2 separate regions of the Homo sapiens genome follow, and region 1 is linked to region 2. The links are contacts of gene promoters, found by promoter capture Hi-C in human tissues and cell types (Jung and others, 2019). All regions are on one chromosome and are shown on one strand. The core of a region is centred on a gene start or on the middle of the fragment in contact, and the rest is flanking DNA. Distances in the headings are between cores, read along the strand shown. Region 1 has its middle 210 kb from the start of ASIC2-AS1. Region 2 holds the start of SLC35G3 (solute carrier family 35 member G3).

What was found. The method cuts DNA at HindIII sites, captures the fragments that hold promoters and counts their contacts. A contact is called where the count stands out against the background at its distance.
Region 1: a contact is called between a fragment that was not itself captured here and the fragment with the promoter of SLC35G3 in region 2, in 1 of the 25 tissues and cell types used here (dorsolateral prefrontal cortex).

What each region holds. Positions count from the first base shown.
Region 1 is chr17:33,764,413-33,767,152 of GRCh38, reverse strand. It overlaps a transcript of ASIC2 not described here. Among named protein-coding and RNA genes, the nearest start is that of ASIC2-AS1, 210 kb to the right of the region's middle. The HindIII fragment of the contact is 5,700 bases long and covers 1-2,740 here.
Region 2 is chr17:35,192,990-35,195,689 of GRCh38, reverse strand. It overlaps SLC35G3 (solute carrier family 35 member G3), which reads left to right and starts at 1,297. Exons shown (of 1, transcript NM_152462.2): 1 at 1,297-2,700. The coding sequence starts at 1,383. The coding sequence ends at 2,399. The HindIII fragment of the contact is 5,493 bases long and covers 1-2,700 here.

The DNA of each region.
Region 1 (2,740 bases), core at 187-2,686, 1.4 Mb after region 2:
CAGACAAGCAGGGCTTTCAAATGTGAGCCTCAAATCCAAGGTCAGCAGAGCAGATGCACTGAATCGCACACACTGATCTGCTACCAAGATGCTTTACAAATGGAAAACTCTGTGCAGCCTGGTCCAGGGCAAATAGCAGTGTGGTTTCTTTTATTTAATGATGGTCAAAAATTATCATAAGCAAAGCCGGCTGGGCTGCCACATATTTTTGTCTGTCTTTGACAATGCTTATATCTGTATTAGAGTTTATCGCCATCAAAATCCACTGACAAATAAAAGTAAATGAGGCAATGGTAGTTGAGAGGAATGGGCTTTTGGAATAAACACAGGAAATAGCACAGGAATAAACCAAAACAGCTGTGATTTTTCTTTTTTTACCCTTTTCACCACAGATCAAATAGCACAGAGTTTAACTCTCAGCATACAGCTTCATTTTAACTGTTATTTTTCTTCTGATTTGGCTAAGAATCATCTCCTCAGTCAAAGTGAGAGCTAAACAATAGGTAAATAATAATAATAATAATCCCACATTTAGGATGCTACATTACACATGCAGATATGTGAAAGAAGCCACCAAAAACAAGCTCAGCCCTAGCTCAACACCCTGGTGAGGCACAGAACATGGAGGTTGAGAAGTCTGAGGGAGAAGAGTGCTTTGAAGCCCATTGTTCCTGGATTATATGGAGGTGTTATCTGGTGCCACTGCCTCTACCTCAAGCCTAGCAGAGAGGCTTCAAGGAAACCACTTGGAGAGTGTGATCTGCTTCTCTTTGAGTACAGCAGTCCCTCTATATCTGTAGGGGATACATTCCAAAAGCCTCAGCAGCTGCTTGAAGCCAATGATACTACCAAACCCTAAATACACTGTTTACTCCTATACATACCTATGATAAAGTTTAACTCATAAATTAGGCACAGTAAGAGATTAACAATTAATAATAAAACAGAACAACTATAACAATATACTGCAATAAATGTTATGTAAATGTGGCCTCTCTCTCTCTCAAAATATCTCATTGTACCATACTCACCTGTTTTTGGACTGTGGTTGACCGTGGGTAACCAAAACCATAGAAAGCAAAACCTCCAATAAAGAGGGACCATTATATGCTAAGCCACCTGCAATGGCAAGACAAAGAACCACTCCTAAGGGTCCCTGCCAAGAGAGGGTGGCCTACTAGAGCAGGGAGACCCCTTCCCAAGCAGCTCTGCTTGTAATAGGAGTCAAGGTGGAAAGGTCATAAGATACTGCATGGGGAATACATTGCCCACATCTGGGGCTGTGCGGTACAGCGGAGCCCACGGGAAGGGACGCCAAAGACCTCACGAATGTGCCTAAAGGAAGAATCCCATCTTGGAATATCCTCTAACCCCATCTGACTCCAGAGTCAAATCATGATAGCACCAGTCAAACAGAACATCCATGTCCCCCATCTGTTCTCCAAAAACTTGCTCTCAAGAACTCAATTGCATAGCTGTGTTCCACTCCAAGATTCCAGGGGAAATGGCAAGAAACTTAGAGTTCAGATTTTTTAAGAACTGCAGAAGACTGGACATTGTATCACTGAAATCATACTATTTTGAAACCAGCAGTGACCTAAGAACTTTTCATTTCCTGAAAGTGACAGGAAATTGAGGAACCTGCCTGAGACAACATCTTTGGGTGGGTAGGAAGGGTTGATAAGGTTGGTTTGTCAGATATTCCTGAGAGGGGAAAAGAAAGTTATTTTACAATTATGCTCCATCGCCGGGCGCGGTGGCTCACGCCTGTAATCCCAGCACTTTGGGAGGCCGAGGCGGGTGGATCACGAGGTCAGGAGGTCGAGACCATCCTGGCTAATACGGTGAAACCCCGTCTCTACTAAAAATACAAAAAAAAATTAGCTGGGCGTGGTAGCGGGCGCCTGTAGTCCCAGCTACTCGGGAGGTTGAGGCAGGAGAATGGCGTGAACCCGGGAGGCGGAGCTTGCAGTGAGCCAAGATAGCGCCACTGCACTCTAGCCTGGGCGACAGAGCGAGACTCCGTCTCAAAAAAAAAACAAAAAACAATTATGCTCCATCAAGTTCCACTGTCACCATCACAGTTAGTTTTGACTGCTGCTTTTTCCCCTCCAGAAAGACTATCTAGGAGAAGAGCAAGGGTGCTGACACGGGTGCTGGATGATGATGGCTAGATAGGCAGCAGTTTTACAGGTCAGCATCAGCATACGCCCAGGCTGATGGTCCATGAGCAGAAGAGAGAAAGTAACAATCAGGAAGATGGAAAGAGGAAAAGTCAGGCACGTGAATGTATCAAAGGGCACAAGGGGCTTGGTTTCCATCTTACATACCCATTGCTATTGTGCGAATGTCCCCTCCAAAGTTCATGTAGAAACTTACCCCCAGTGTGGCAGTATTGACAGATGGGGCCTTTAACATGTGATTGGACCATAAGGGCTGTACCCTCAAGAATGAACTCATCCATTCATGAATTAAAGGATGAATAGGTTATCATGGAGGAGGAATTGGTGGCTTTATAAGAAGAGGAAAAGAGACCTGAGCTAGCAAGTTAGTGCACTCAGACCCCTCGCCATGTGATGCCCCATGCTGCCTTGAGACTCTACAGAGTCCTCATCAGCAAGAAAGTTCCCACCAGATGTACTCCCTTGACCTTAAACCTCCCAGCCTCCACAGCTGTAAGAAACAAATTCTTTTTCTTTATTAATTATCCAGTTTCAGGTATTCTGTTATAAGCAGGAGA
Region 2 (2,700 bases), core at 48-2,547:
GCTAGCTACAACCTCCACCTCCCAGCCGCCTGCCTTGGCCTCCCAAAGTGCCGAGATTGCAGCCTCTGCCCAGCCGCCACCCCGCCTGGGAAGTGAGGAGCGTCTCCGCCTGGCCGCCCATTGTCTGGGATGTGAGGAGCCCCTCTGCCCGGCTGCCCAGTCTGGGAAGTGAGGAGCGCCTCTTCCCGGCCGCCATCCCATCTAGGAAGTGAGGAGCGCCTCTTCCCGGCCGCCATCCCGTCTAGGAAGTGAGGAGCGTCTCTGCCCGGGGGCCCATCGTCTGAGATGTGGGGAGCGCCTCTGCCTGGCCGCGACCCCATCTGGGAGGTGAGGAGCGTCTCTGCCCGGCCGCCCCATCTGAGAAGTGAGGAGCCCCTCCGCCCCGCAGCTGCCCCATCTGAGAAGTGAGGAGCCCCTCCGCCCGGCAGCCGCCCCGTCTGAGAAGTGAGGAGCCCCTCCACCCGGCAGCCGCCCCGTCTGGGAAGTGAGGAGCTTCTCTGCCCGGCAGCCGCCCCGTCCAGGAGGGAGGTGGGGGGCAGCCCCCGCCGGGCAAGCTGCCCCGTCTGGGAGGGAGGTGGGGGGTCAGCCCCCGCCCGGCCGCTGCCCCGTCCGGGAGGTGGGGGGCACCGCTGCCCGGCCGCCCCTTCTGGGAAGTGAGGAGCCCCTCTGCCCGGCCACCACCCCGTCTGGGAGGTGTACCCAACAGCTCATTGAGAACGGGCCATGATGACGGTGGTGGTTTTGTGGAATAGAAAAGGGGGAAAGGTGGGGAAAAGATAGAGAAATCAGATTGTTGCTGTGTCTGTGTAGAAAGAAGTAGACATGGGAGACTTCATTTTGTTCTGTACTGGGAAGGGTTCTTCTGCCTTGGGATGCTGTTGATCTGTGACCTTGCCCCCAGCCCTGTGCTCTCTGGGGCATGTGCTGTGTCCACTCAGGGTTAAATGGATTAAGGGCGGTGCAAGATGTGCTTTGTTAAACAGATGCTTGAAGGCAGCATGCTCGTTAAGAGTCATCACCACTCCCTAATCTCAAGTACCCAGGGACACAAACACTGCAGAAGGCCGCAGGGTCCTCTGCCTAGGAAAACCAGAGACCTTTGTTCACTTGTTTATCTGCTGACCTTCCCTCCACTATTGTCCTATGACCCTGCCAAATCCCCCTCTGCGAGAAACACCCAAGAATGATCAATAAAAAAAAACAAAAAACAAAAAAAGAAAGAAAAGAAGCAGAGTTGGACTCAGTGGGAAAATAGGCGTGCTACCACCTCAGGAGAGTTCCAGGGAAGAATCCCACCCCCACTCCAATGAGGTCACAATGGCTGGAGCTCTGAGGGGCCCAGGCTCCCTGAGCCAGGAGGAGAGGAGAAAGTCCAAGGAAAGATGGCTGGCAGTCACCCCTATTTCAACCAGCCTGACTCCACACACCCATCGCCGCCCTCCGCTCCACCCAGCCTCCGCTGGTACCAGCGCTGCCAGCCCTCTGATGCCACCAGTGGCCTGCTGGTGGCCCTGCTGGGTGGGGGCCTGCCTGCTGGCTTCGTGGGCCCCCTTTCTCGTATGGCTTACCAGGCTTCCAACCTGCCCTCGCTGGAGCTGCTCATCTGGCGATGCCTCTTCCACCTCCCTATTGCCCTGCTACTTAAACTGCGTGGCGACCCCCTTCTGGGAACTCCTGACATCCGAAGCCGGGCCTTCTTCTGTGCCCTGCTCAACATCCTCAGCATTGGATGTGCCTACAGTGCGGTTCAGGTGGTGCCCGCTGGCAACGCTGCCACTGTTCGCAAAGGTTCTTCCACCGTCTGCTCCGCCGTCCTCACTCTCTGCCTTGAGAGCCAGGGTCTCAGTGGCTACGACTGGTGTGGACTGTTGGGCTGCATCCTAGGACTAATCATCATTGTGGGACCTGGACTCTGGACACTACAGGAGGGGACCACGGGTGTCTACACCGCCCTGGGCTATGTGGAGGCTTTCCTGGGAGGCCTGGCGCTGTCCCTGAGGCTTCTGGTCTATCGTTCTCTGCACTTTCCCCCCTGCCTCCCAACAGTGGCCTTCCTATCTGGCTTGGTGGGGCTGCTGGGCTCTGTGCCAGGCCTCTTTGTGCTGCAGGCCCCCGTGTTGCCCAGTGACCTCCTGAGTTGGAGTTGTGTGGGGGCAGTGGGGATCCTCGCCTTGGTCTCCTTCACATGTGTGGGCTATGCGGTCACCAAGGCCCACCCTGCCCTGGTGTGCGCTGTCCTACATTCCGAGGTGGTTGTGGCCCTTATACTGCAGTATTATATGCTCCATGAGACTGTGGCACCTTCTGACATCGTGGCGGCAGGGGTTGTGCTGGGCAGCATTGCCATCATTACAGCCCAGAACCTCAGCTGTGAGAGGACAGGGAGGGTGGAGGAGTGAGATAGAACTTGGGAGCCCGGGGGTTGGGAGGGACAGGGATAAATAAAGGCAAAGACTGAAGACAAACATGGGAGGAGAAGTGACTGGAAAAGAACTGGTGTGGGAGAGGGATACCTCTCAGAGTCAAGGGTGACTTGGGGACTTGGTGGAGAGGGACTACGTGGAAGACCTGGGGCCAGCCTGGGACCAAGGGATGTGGAGTCCAGGCTGGGTCCTAGAATCAGGGCATAACTAAGGGGTAAAGTCTGAGGAGCAGATCCAAAGGGCTGAGGCAGGGAGGCCGTGGGCCATGGGGAGGACT